Regions from separate parts of the Homo sapiens genome. Here all the other regions are linked to region 1. The links are contacts of gene promoters, found by promoter capture Hi-C in blood cells and fetal thymus (Javierre and others, 2016). All regions are on one chromosome and are shown on one strand. Each heading gives the region's core, a stretch centred on a gene start or on the middle of the fragment in contact. The rest is flanking DNA. Distances are from core to core; before and after follow the strand shown.

Region 1 (2,874 bases), core at 261-2,760:
TAAAGTTAATGCCGTCACTGGCTCACATCACTCAAGAGCTGTGGAGTAAGAATTGATAGAAACCACCAGCTAAGGGGGAAAAAAAAAATCACCGAAGGGAAAGACAAATAACAACTCTCGTCCCTCCTCCTCAGCGTCAAGAAAAGGTGGGGATCGCAAAATTACCGTTAAGTTGTCCGGGTAAAGACTTTTGGGGGAGGAAAACATTAATAGTTTCACAGATTGCTTTTTTCCTTGCGACATGTTTCAAACACCGGAGAAGAAAAAAGTCTTCTAAGAAAGTGCGACTCGGAGGAAATAGCCACGAGAAGGAAATCGTTAGCTCGAAGCCCCATCTTTCATCTCACCCGTGAACACTCCTCCCCTTTGAGAAAGGACAACGCTGCGAGAGCAAATGACAAAAATCCCCAGAAAGAAGCTAAAGTCCAGCATCTTTCCTAAGAGCCCGCTACAACCTCAAAAGCCTGCCCCTGCCCCATCTTGGAAGCGCGAGCCGCGGCCAGTCCTACCTACCTAGAGACCTCACCGGGACCCAGCGCGCCGGGGGAGGGCAGCCAGGGCTTGGGAAACTCTTTCCTGGGGCACCTCACGCTTCAGCGTCAAAAGACAATATAGATAGATGGGTGCCGGGCGGTGGCGGGGGGGACTGTTGCCACGACCCACCGGAGGGACCCATGACTCCGGGTCCTGAATTTTCTGTCGACCTTAAGTTTCTTGTCACGAGATGACGGCCATCACCGGGTCGAGAAAACGGCGAGAAAAGGCGGCCCGGTTCGGAAATGGGGGAGGGGCGCGCGTCCAGTCCTCCTGTCAAGGAGCGGCCGCCTGCAGAGACCCCGCAGTGCGCCGTCCCCGGCTCCGGTCCCGGGCGGGGGGTCTTGCTGACAGATCCGCTGGGCGGCGGCTGCTCCGCCGCAGCCGGTCCGCGTCCCGCTCAAACTGCAGCTCCCCTCCCCCCACAGCCCCGTCTCTCCGCGCTCCCGCCACATTCCGCCCGCCGCCGCCCACTCGCAGACGCCCAAGTTGCCCCTAACCCTACTTCCTCGGATTTTTCGCGATTAAGTGAGAGTAGACCCCGCGCCCACTCCCTGCACCCACCACTGCCTGCGGGTCCCACCACTGCCACCTCCCGAGTCCCGCTCTGCTACTTCTTCAGGCTCTTACCGACTGCGCCAGCCTTGGCGAAGCTCCGCCGACTGCCCTTTGCTCCAAGTAATTTTTGGCGATTTTTAAAGTAATTTTTCCGGCGGAGTCATAGTGGCGCTATACTCTCGGACAGGTTATCCTGTCTCTCCCGCTAGATTGATGAGATCAGGCATCACTCGAAAATGGCGCCGAAAGCGCTGAGGCTCCTCATTCAAATTCGTTAGAGCCAACCCCGCCGCCCCAGGGAATGCCGGGAACGCGGGCTGCCTCCACAGCTGTCAATACCGCCTCTTAACCCCCCTTCTCTTGCTTTCCCGACATTTTTACGCATGCGCAAACTCCAACCCTCCCCCCTCCTCCCGCCAGGCACATGCGCAGAATCATCGTGGTGCACGGCTCTCCCTTTGCTTCTTCGGTTGCAGTCCTCTTGCTTCTTGCGCGTGCGTGTAGCGCTTTTGCAAAGCCGCGGAGGTGAAGTGAACTTAGAGGTTGTGGGGCCGAGGGGTCGTCTTATAGCTACCAGCCCACAGGCATTTAGTCTACGTTGGAGGTAAACAAATACGGGTCCTGCTTAGGAGAAAAGAAAAACGTCTTACAGCCAGTGTCTAAACTCCAAACAACGGAATGTATCAATGAGACCTTGTATATGGATACACGTGCATTTAAAACCGCCCTGCCGGCTTGTAGAGCTTTTGCCGTTCTCCAGCGCTTTACAGGGGTTATCGCACTTAAGCCTCGGAACAACTTTACCAGGTAGGAACTATTACTGTTCTCGTTTTGAAGACCAGGAAACCTAGGCTCAGAGACGTTAAGTAATTTGCCCAAGACAGCACAGGTGGCACAGAAGTGGATGAATCCACATCTGTCAGATTCAGCAGCCCTGGAGTTCTCTACCACGCTGTACGATTCAACCTGAGCCCACACAGGAGGCGTGGTCTCCTTCTTCAACGGTGTGTGTGTGTGTGCGCGCGCGCCTGCCTAGAGTTAATGATTAAGTTTGCTGAAGCCCTTCTTCCCGGTCCTAAGCTGCCTGTTGCGAAGGCGCTTTCATTGAATTCAGTTTCTCTTACCGTCTTAACTTGTTCATAAACTTTTTGAGATAGGAATGGGCAGTTTTTCTGTGTCACTTAGGATGATTTTTTTTTTTAATGGCGTGATAAGTGAACTGAATCCAGCAAAGACGAGTTTCTGTTGTGCAACACGTTGGTATACTGACAGCTACCACGTATTGACTGTGTACTGTGTGCTGGGCACTGTGCTAAATAAATGATTTACGAATTAATCGTGTTTATTGCTCACAACAGCCTTATGAAGTAGGTATTATCTTCACTTTACAGATGAGGACACCTGAGGTTCAGATTAAGAAATCTGCCCCAAAGTCTTAGAACTGGTAAGTAGAAGCACCATATCTAGGCAAACCTGTCTACCTTCAAAAAAAATGGGCACTCTGATAGGACAATTAACGATAATAAAGTTGTAATTTTTTTTTTTTTTTGAGACGGAGCCTCGCTCTGTCGCCAGGCTGGAGTGCAGTGGCGCGATCTCGGCTCACTGCAGCCTCCGCCTCCCGGGTTCAAGCAATTCTCCTGCCTCAGCCTCCCGAGTAGCTGGGACTACAGGCAAGTGCCACCACGCCCAGCTAATTTTTGTACTTTTAATAGAGACGGGGTTTCACCATGTTGGCCAGAAGGGTCTCGATCTCTTGACCTCGCGATCCGCCCGCCTCGG
Region 2 (2,874 bases), core at 156-2,655, 500 kb after region 1:
CCAAGAGGGAGAAGATTGGAAATTTGAGAATGGGTGCAAATAGAGAAGATGAGAGCAAGTGAATAGAGAGAAACAAAGGAAAGAGGCAGAAACAGTCTGGGATGGATAATGATTATGTCAGCTGTGAGAATGGAAATTTAGGCATCTCGTGCCTAATTTTCATTGTTTTCTGTGCTGTTTTGCATTGCAGTTGCTTGTCTGACTTCATAAAGCCTGTCTTAGTTCATTCCTGCTGCTATAACAAAATACCTTAAACTGTGAAATTTATAAATGATGGAAACTTATTTTTCACAATTCTGGTGGCTGGGAAGTCCAAGATCCAGGCATCTTCAGATTCTGTCTGATGAAGGATCACTTTTCACTTTCGAGGTGGTGCCTTGTCGCTGCATCCTCTGGAGGGAACAAATGCTGTGTCCTTACACAGAACATGGTGGAAGGGCAAGAGGGCCTGGCTAGGGCCCTTTATAAGGCACTAATCCCATCCATGAGGACAGAGCCCTCATGGCCTAATCACCTGTCAAAGGCCTTACCTCCTAATACTATCACGCTGCGTCTTAGGTTCCAACATATGAATTTGTGGGGGATACATACGTTCACACCATAGCAATCCCCAACCTTCAGTAAAAGTCTGTAGCTTTGGGGTAGATGGGTAGGATATTCAGTGTAAGGTCATGTAGTACAGAGAAGAGATGGCACATTCCAGAGGTAAGAAATAGACAAGAGAAAGGGAATTCAGAAGCAGGAATAAGAGCCAGAAGTGACACTAGGGAATTCAGGAGCAGGAATAAGAGCCAGAAGTGACAGTAAGAACCCAAGCTCCCCAACCTCTGAAATGCCAGAGATACTGCATAATAAGCTGAGCTTCCCAGAAGCCAATTTACTTATCCATGAACAAGGTGCCCCTAACCCGTTGGAACATGTAGGAACCCCAGTGGATGGTAAGTGTATGTACCCACTTAGAAGGAATGGAACAAAGCTAGCTTTCTGACAATGGACACACGTTTAGTCTGATAAACTGGGCTTGGGAGACAGGCAGAGGACAGGGACTTGGGACAGAGTGGTAGACAAGGAATGTGAGTGAGTCAAGGTGGGAAGGCTAAGGGAGCCCTTTGTGTGCCTCGGAGAACAAAGCTGGTGTCAGCTTTCGGCCTTTTTATGCTAATATTTTATGATTAAAAGTCTAATTCGTTCTTTGGGTTTTATGATTTATACTGCGTACTGTGTAAATCCAGGAAATCAGGCTAGGTTCTCCACGAGCCACATTTGCACAGCTTGATGAGGTTTCGCTTCCACACGGTGTGGCTATTTCTTAGTGGATTCTCTTCTACTTTTAGCCACAGAGCACTTCATCCTGCAGATGTCTTGAGTATGCATCAGCTGTGTCAGCAAAGATCCCTAAGACAGAATTGCTCCCCTGGGATGCCGAGCAGGGATTTACTTCTTTAAACCCCCTTTTATTTAAGTGCTGGCAACAGGGTTATAACAAGGAACATATTTCAAAACCATTTTCTCTGTCCCTATCTATTTCTGCAATCTTTATTTCAGCAAATAAAACCTAGGGTCCAAGTCCCATTTTTTCCCAGGATAATTTCGCCTCTCACACAAGAGTGTGTTTCTGAAATACTAAATCAAGGGGCTGTTGGGGCACCCTCAGAGCTCAGAGCAGCTTGAGTGTGAAGTAAACATTTTCTTTAAGGGGTCTTTCCACAGATATACCAGATGAAAAGTCCAGAGCACTGCGTTTTCCTTCACACAGACCTCAGGCTTTGTGACATCTGGAAAAAGTGGTTTGCTATTTGGACCTTCCAGCAAAACTCTCGTTCAATTGGATTCACATAAGACTGTGCTGTTCGCTTATAGTTTGGACAATAGCAACACCTCTCCTTTTACTTGGCAATGCTAGAAGCTATTTGGATAAAAATGAAAGCCCTTGAAAAAGCATTAGGGAAATTGTCACACTCCTGCTGTAAGGGTGTGAAAGGCTGTCGCTCAGTCTCCTGACCAGAGCTGAAAAGGTGTCTTAGCTCACCTGGATCATCTCAGCCCTCTGTACTGGGGTTTCGACTCCTGATTTTAAGAGCTGGCATCTTAAAGGTTTAGTCCTTGGGTACCAAGCAGGGGAGACACAGGCCCCACTTGAGCACAGAGAAGCCAGGCCAGCAGAGGAAGATAACCCATGGGGCAAACCCCCCTTTTGTTGGCCTTGCAGGACCTGAGTGAAACAGACCAATTATCCACCCCACTCACAATCCCAGTCCATGGGGCAGCACCTCCCTTCCCTTAGCCTAGGAAGAAATTTCCATGGGAGAGGATTTTGTTGTTCTGAGGGGCATTTGGATGAGAATACAAAGAGAATGGGAGGAAACGGGAGAGAAAAATCATCAAGATGAAAAATGAACAAGATTTATGAGGGCAACCCATCCCTCTCCCGCTGCTCAGTCCCGCTCCCCGAAATGTATTTTCCAGCTCCTCATACAGACTGACTTTAAATGAAGCAAGCTAGCAAGCTGCCATCACTTTCTTTGAGAGACTATCAACAGATTAATAGATCTTCCCAATATAGTAATTCTCCTCAAATCAAGCCTATATTTTCCATCACATCACTGAATTTATGTTTCCCTTGGAGTAGCCTAAGCCTTTGTTTATGCCTTTTGAATGTTCATTTCATATCCACCACTATTGTGTTTCCTTTTAGCAATGCAGTCGCTGGGCCAGGTTATATAGCTCTAAGTCTTTGGAATAAGTTTCCTTCCAATCTGTAATTACCTTCATGCTGCTTTTCAGATTTCCTCTGGGTATTGTCATCTTCTGTGCTCTGGTTCTCTGCCCTGTGCGGGGATGAGGGTAACTGGGCTGTGCTTGGATCCTGCTGCG
Region 3 (2,874 bases), core at 193-2,692, 410 kb after region 1:
CAGGATTAAGAGTGAGCTCTCTTAGGCTCAGATGACCCCCACAATCAAAGGTAAGAGGGCTGTAACTGAAATATCACTCAACAGTCATGCCAGGAATAATGGACACTGAAACGACTACCATGCCTTGTGGTGAGTGCCCTCCTTTGGGGATTAGCAAGATGGTAGGGGATGTGCAGAAGACTGCAATGGGTCTCTTAACCCTTCCTTCCTTCAGTATATAATCCAGGTTATTTTAGAAATAGAACACCAGTGATGTGTTTGTGACAACTTCTACTGGTCCTGTAATCTAGTTAGAATTGGGTGGATGACCCCTTATAAATCCTAACTAGATTACAGGACCAGTAATGTGTCAGTCTTAATTAATTCATTGGTTTATTTATTCATTCATTCTTTCATTCATTTTTTTACTTGTTCATCCATTCATCAAAAGTATTTTTAGTACTTTACCTACTATTAGCTGGGCTTCAGTTAAATAATTTTGTATTTTTTTTTCCTTAATAGAACTTATGATCTGGTGGAAGGACATGATAACTAATCAAATAATCACAAATATGTATTTCAGAGGTAATTATTCTAAAGGAAAGTTATCTGACTTGGTTTTTCTGGGAAGTCTTGCCTAAATGAGATAATTTTTGAAGTGGGTGAGCTGGCCACTTAGGGCTTGGGAGAGGTTAACAGAATGAGGCCACAGGTAACTTCTTGGGCAGCATGTGCAAGGGCCTTGGGGACAGAGGGCTGTGGTACGTTTGATGGACTGTGAACAGAACAGTCAGGCTGTAGTATAGAGAGTGAGGGAAGAGAGTGGTGCAAAATAAAGCTGAAAATATGGGCATATGTCAGGTCATTCAGGACTTTGTAAGGCGTGTGAAGGGTTTGGGTTGTCAGTTGAAGGGTTAGGGAAACCACTGAAGAGATTTAAGTGGGGCACGGTTGTGGAGGGGGGTGGTGACTGTGTAATTTGTAAAGAACACAAAGATTGCAGGGTGGAGAACAGATTGGGAAGGCAGCAAGTATCAATGTAGGAAGACTGGTTAGAAGGTATAAGGAGGTTTTATTTTGTTTTTTTCCTTTGTAGATGGGAGAAACTTGAGTAAGTAAATGTCAGTGGGAAAGATCCAAGCAAGAGAGAAATGCTGAATGAAAAAAAGAAAAAAGAGCTAGTGAAAGCTTCCTGAAAGCCAGTGTAATGATTGGAGCAATTGGCCTTAGAAAGGAGAAGGGCTAATTTTATTCTACAGAAAGGAGAAAAAATGGGATGGGTGCAGATATAAGGGCCCATTTTTGTGGGAGTTCCTGTCTTGTGGCTTTTGTTTTCTGTGTAAAGTAGGAAGTGAGGTCATTTGTTAAGAGTGGAAGGAAAGGTGCAAGATAAAAAAGCAAGTCAGAGATCTGAGGAGACTGGAGAAAGTTTGAGAAATTCACTAGAGAGGTGGGAGAGAGAACTGACAGGTGCTTGTGGAAATCTTGCTGATATGTGTTGAGGACGTGCTGGTTTTGATGTTCATGACTTCACAACAGTGCAGATCCACTCTGTGTGTGGCTTTCATCAGCAATACTTCCGTATTTGGGTTTAGAAAGATTAAGGGAAAAAAGGAAAAAAAGACAGTTGGGTTCAGGCAACACTGGGATCTTGTTAGCAGCTGCTAATATAAAGACAGAAAGGAATGGAGTTTGGGGCCCTGGCAAATATGTTATTGAAATGACATATAATGAAATTCAAGCTTAGAAAGGGGGAATTTGAAAAAGAAGGCTGATAGATTGGAAGAGAGTAGAAGAGTCAATGGAAGGGGCCCTGAAGAAGTTGAAGAACACTTGTAATCTGAGGAGTCGAACTAGCTAGCTGGATAGAAAGGAGTTAGTAGGAAACTGATTTAGTGACTTGGGTGGTAGAGAGGTTTGGGGTGATGACAAGTTCCAGGGTAGTGTTGGGAGACAATTTTCCATGAATATTTTTACGTTTCTGCACAGTCTTGGCTTTCTGAGCAAAGAAAATTGGCAAAAATGGTTAAACAATAATTGAATAGCAAATATGCCTGAGAAGCTAGAAATAGTGTATTGTTCCAGACAGATTTAGAGAATTCGCTGCCATAGAGTCATTTGCATTACATTTCTGGGTAGCAAAAACCTAGGGACCTTTCCCTCACATCCTCAGAGAGGGTTTCTTACATTCCAGAGTGAAAGTCTCTCTCTCTTTCTTTCCAGAAGAAATGAGGGGCAAATGCACTAGCTGCCCTATGTAAGCTCTAAGTCTCATCATTTCGGGGATCCTCTCCTGTGATGCAGCTTTGCTAGAAAGAACTAATATTTGTATTTTTTTGCACCATCTGTTCTGCTGTATCGTGGTAGAAGTCATGTAGGTTCATATGAGATCTTTCTTCCAAGCACCTTAATGTTTTGAAGAGATAAAAGCAAGAAGCAAGCTTTCTTACAATTCATGAAAAAGCCCAATCAATATGCCTCAAGAAACAAAGCTGATGTATAATAAAAATTATTATCCCAGCACATGTTTTTGAATTCCTATAGACTTTAAATAGATTTTAAAGTTGAGATGAAACTGGTCTCTATTAGAAGCAAATGCCCTCAAAGACTTTCCTCTTGAAGAAGGAATTCTAAGTTCCAGTATTTAAAGCTGAAAAAGATCATCCGACTGTGATGCTGGGCAAATGCCACAGAAGATTTAACTCTGCTATTGTCTTGATTGTTTTCATTACACAGTTTTATAAGTTTTCTGGGCTGTATAGACTCTGTTTTTACTGATAAGTCCTATTATTGACAATGCCTGACTTTGCAGAGTTCTAGGTTTTTGAAAACAACGTAGCTTTATGGGAGAATCTGCTGTATTTCTTTCCATCTTTTGCATTAAGTACATAGTTT
Region 4 (2,874 bases), core at 277-2,776, 290 kb after region 1:
CAAACCAAGATAACTGGTGCCTTTATAGGAAGGGGAAATTTGTACACAGGGAGAACGTCTTGAACATAAAGACAGAGGTGGGGAGATGTAACTCCAATCCAAGGGATGCCAAAGATTGCCAGCCAACCACCAGAAGCCAGGAGAGAGACCTGGGACAGGTTCTCCCTCACAGCAGAGTGGGCTCATGTCTTAGCCTGTTTGAGCTGCTATAACAAAATACCATAAACTAGATGGCTTATAAACAACAGATATTTATTTTTCATAGTTCTGGAGGCTGGGAAGTCTGAGATCAAGATACCAGCAGATTCAGTGTCTAGTGAGGGCCCATTTCCTGGTCCACTGATGGTGCCTTCTGACTGTGTCCTCACATAGGGGAAGGGGCAAACTAGCTCTACGGGGTCTCTTTTATAAAGGTTCTAATCCCATTCATGAGGGCTCCTCCCTCATGGCTTCTCAAAAGTCACCACCTCCTAATACCATCAACTTGGAGGTTAGGATTTCAACATATGAGTTTTGAGGGGACACAAACATTCAGACCAGAGTAGCCCCTAACCCAATATGACTGGTGTCTTTATAAGAAGGTGGCTTTGTGAAGACAGAGACACATGAGGAGAATGCCACGTGACAACTAAGGCAGAGACTGGCATTAATGCAGTTACAAGCCAAAGAATGCCAGAAATTGCCAGTGAATCACCAGTAGCTAGGAGAGCAGCAAGGAAGGACACTCACCCGCAGGTTTAGGGGGGAACATGTCCCTGCTGACACCTCAATTTTACACCTCTAGCCTCCAGAATTGTGAGAGAATATGATTCTGTTTTAAGCTGCTCAATGTATGGTGCTTTGTTATGGTAGCCCTAGGAAAGGAATACAGTCAGGAACACTCTTGTCCATAGGCAACATGGGATGTAGCAATGTATGGCCAAATCTTTCTCCTCCCACCATACAGAACACATTCATTCAAAGAGTATAAATTGGCCCAAGCTTAATAGACATTCTCTTTTTTACTAGTGGGTCAACACAAGTATAGGCCAGGTTAGTTCTATAGATAAAACAGAATTTGAAATGTGTAATGTTAAAGCCAAAGGTCCAATGGCTATTTATTCCACATTCTATATAACTACCCTAACTCAAGCAGCCGCTCTAAAACCCCAGTGACTAGGACCCTGAAAAAGTGTTCTTTAAAGTGTCAGAACAGAGATTCAGACTCTCAGAATTTGCTGTTTCAGTTTGAGAAGATGAAGAGTTTGAAGATGAGAAGACTCAAATTTGAGTCCAGCACCCAGCTGCCAGTCTAGCAGCCCATTGTAGCCCCCAGAGAATGAAAATGGAATGCTTGGTCCAATCCCCATGGTGGGTGTCCTCCAGGAAGCTCTGGGGTTCCCAACTGGCCTCCAGCCATACCAGGGCCATATAGATTCCTTAAAATAAATATCTATTTGTGTGTTGCCTTTTGGTGGCTCTGATCATCTATAGCATCAAGTCTAAGCATGATGCTTGAATAAGCCTCCATGATTTATGCCCCCTCTGGGCTCTGGGCTCCTGTTGCATCACACTGTCCCTTTAGCTTTATATCTAGTTACACAAAATTACTTGTTGTTTCCACAATAAAGCCTTATGTGTCTTGTCTTTGTGACCTTAACTATCACTTAAATTGACAATGCCCTTTCCTTCTTTTCCTACTGAAACAACCCTAGTTAATCTTCAAAATATTCATAAGGGACACTTTCCTATGAAAGCCTTCTTTGACAACATCCTCCAGATAGACTTAATACCTTTTTTCTTTGTATAATTTTTTACCTGCTCCTTTACTGTGCATCTCAAACTATATTTAATAATTTGTTTATAATCATCTTTTAATTAAACTGTGAGATCCTTGAGGGCAGGAATTGTATTTTATTTATATAGGATGCCCAGTAGTAAGCATAGTGCCTATACCTGTACAGGTGATTAGTAACTGTTTAAATGAATTCTTCATTTAACAAATATTTCTTGAGACTTTTTATGTTGCAGGCATTGTTCTGGGCCTTGTAGATGTGGCAGTAGTCAAGAAAAACAAAGACCTTTCCTACCTGAAGCTTGTGTTCCGGTAGAGAAAATGGATAAACAGATAAAAATAATAGACATTGCATATACTTTCAAGTAATGATATGTGCTACGAAGAAGAAAAAAGGCAGTGTAGGAGGTTGTGGGTCGATGGGATTTCTCTTAGATTCACAAATCAAGAGGTGATCAAATGAAACTTAACCAAAAAAGACAATGACTTCTCTCTAACCAAACTTGATTACTGATAGTCTTTTTCCAAGTCAGCTTAATGTGCTGTTCAAGAGAATCAGTGTGGAAGGAAGGAAATGTGCAAGAGAGTCCTGTATCAGACACAGTGGGCAGGGAGCTTTACATCTCTCATCTTATTGGGCTTTGACAACACCCTTCAAGATAGGTGCTGTTGCAGATGAATGACAACCTGAACTTCAGGGAGGCCAAATAATGTGTCCATGTGGAGTGTCTGAGTGTGTAAGCCAAGGTTCAAACCCCGGCCATCCTGGGCCACTTGTCAACACCAGTTCTACAGTTGAATTCTATGAATACTTATCAGGTGCTGACTTCATGTCAAGCCCTGTTCTTCATGCTTAGCATACACCAGCAAATAGAATAGACAGAAATCCCTGCCATTTCAGAAAGTAACAAGTGTTGACAAGGATGTGGAGAAATTGAAACGCTTGTGCACTGTTGGTGGGAATGTAAAATGGCACAGGTACTATGGGAAACAGTATGGTAGATCCTCAGAAAATTAAAAATATAATTACCATATGATCCAATGATTCCATTTCTGGAAATATACCCAAAGGAATGGAAAGCAGGATCTTGAAGAGATAT

The links. The method cuts DNA at HindIII sites, captures the fragments that hold promoters and counts their contacts. A CHiCAGO score of 5 or more calls a contact.
Region 2: a fragment that was not itself captured here is called in contact with the fragment with the promoter of DLEU1 in region 1 in 1 of 17 cell types (naive B cells); the score reaches 5.1 in naive B cells.
Region 3: a contact is called between a fragment that was not itself captured here and the fragment with the promoter of DLEU1 in region 1, in 1 of 17 cell types (fetal thymus). The highest score is 6.0, in fetal thymus.
Region 4: a contact is called between a fragment that was not itself captured here and the fragment with the promoter of DLEU1 in region 1, in 1 of 17 cell types (activated CD4 T cells). The highest score is 6.0, in activated CD4 T cells.

What each region holds. Positions count from the first base shown.
Region 1 is chr13:50,080,659-50,083,532 of GRCh38, forward strand. DLEU1 (deleted in lymphocytic leukemia 1) reads left to right here and starts at 1,511. Exons shown (of 7, transcript NR_109974.1): 1 at 1,511-1,899; 2 at 2,484-2,536. The region is part of intron 1 of DLEU2 (deleted in lymphocytic leukemia 2); the gene reads right to left. RefSeq lists enhancers at 1-22, 1,640-2,435 and silencers at 655-949, 813-1,032, 1,433-1,482. The HindIII fragment of the contact is 5,734 bases long and covers 1-2,874 here.
Region 2 is chr13:50,583,995-50,586,868 of GRCh38, forward strand. No RefSeq gene overlaps it. Among named protein-coding and RNA genes, the nearest start is that of DLEU1-AS1, 58 kb to the left of the region's middle. The HindIII fragment of the contact is 7,498 bases long and covers 1-2,874 here.
Region 3 is chr13:50,492,971-50,495,844 of GRCh38, forward strand. The region is part of intron 5 of DLEU1 (deleted in lymphocytic leukemia 1); the gene reads left to right. Among named protein-coding and RNA genes, the nearest start is that of DLEU1-AS1, 33 kb to the right of the region's middle. The HindIII fragment of the contact is 554 bases long and covers 1,166-1,719 here.
Region 4 is chr13:50,367,313-50,370,186 of GRCh38, forward strand. All of the region lies in intron 2 of DLEU1 (deleted in lymphocytic leukemia 1), which reads left to right. Among named protein-coding and RNA genes, the nearest start is that of DLEU1-AS1, 160 kb to the right of the region's middle. The HindIII fragment of the contact is 1,094 bases long and covers 980-2,073 here.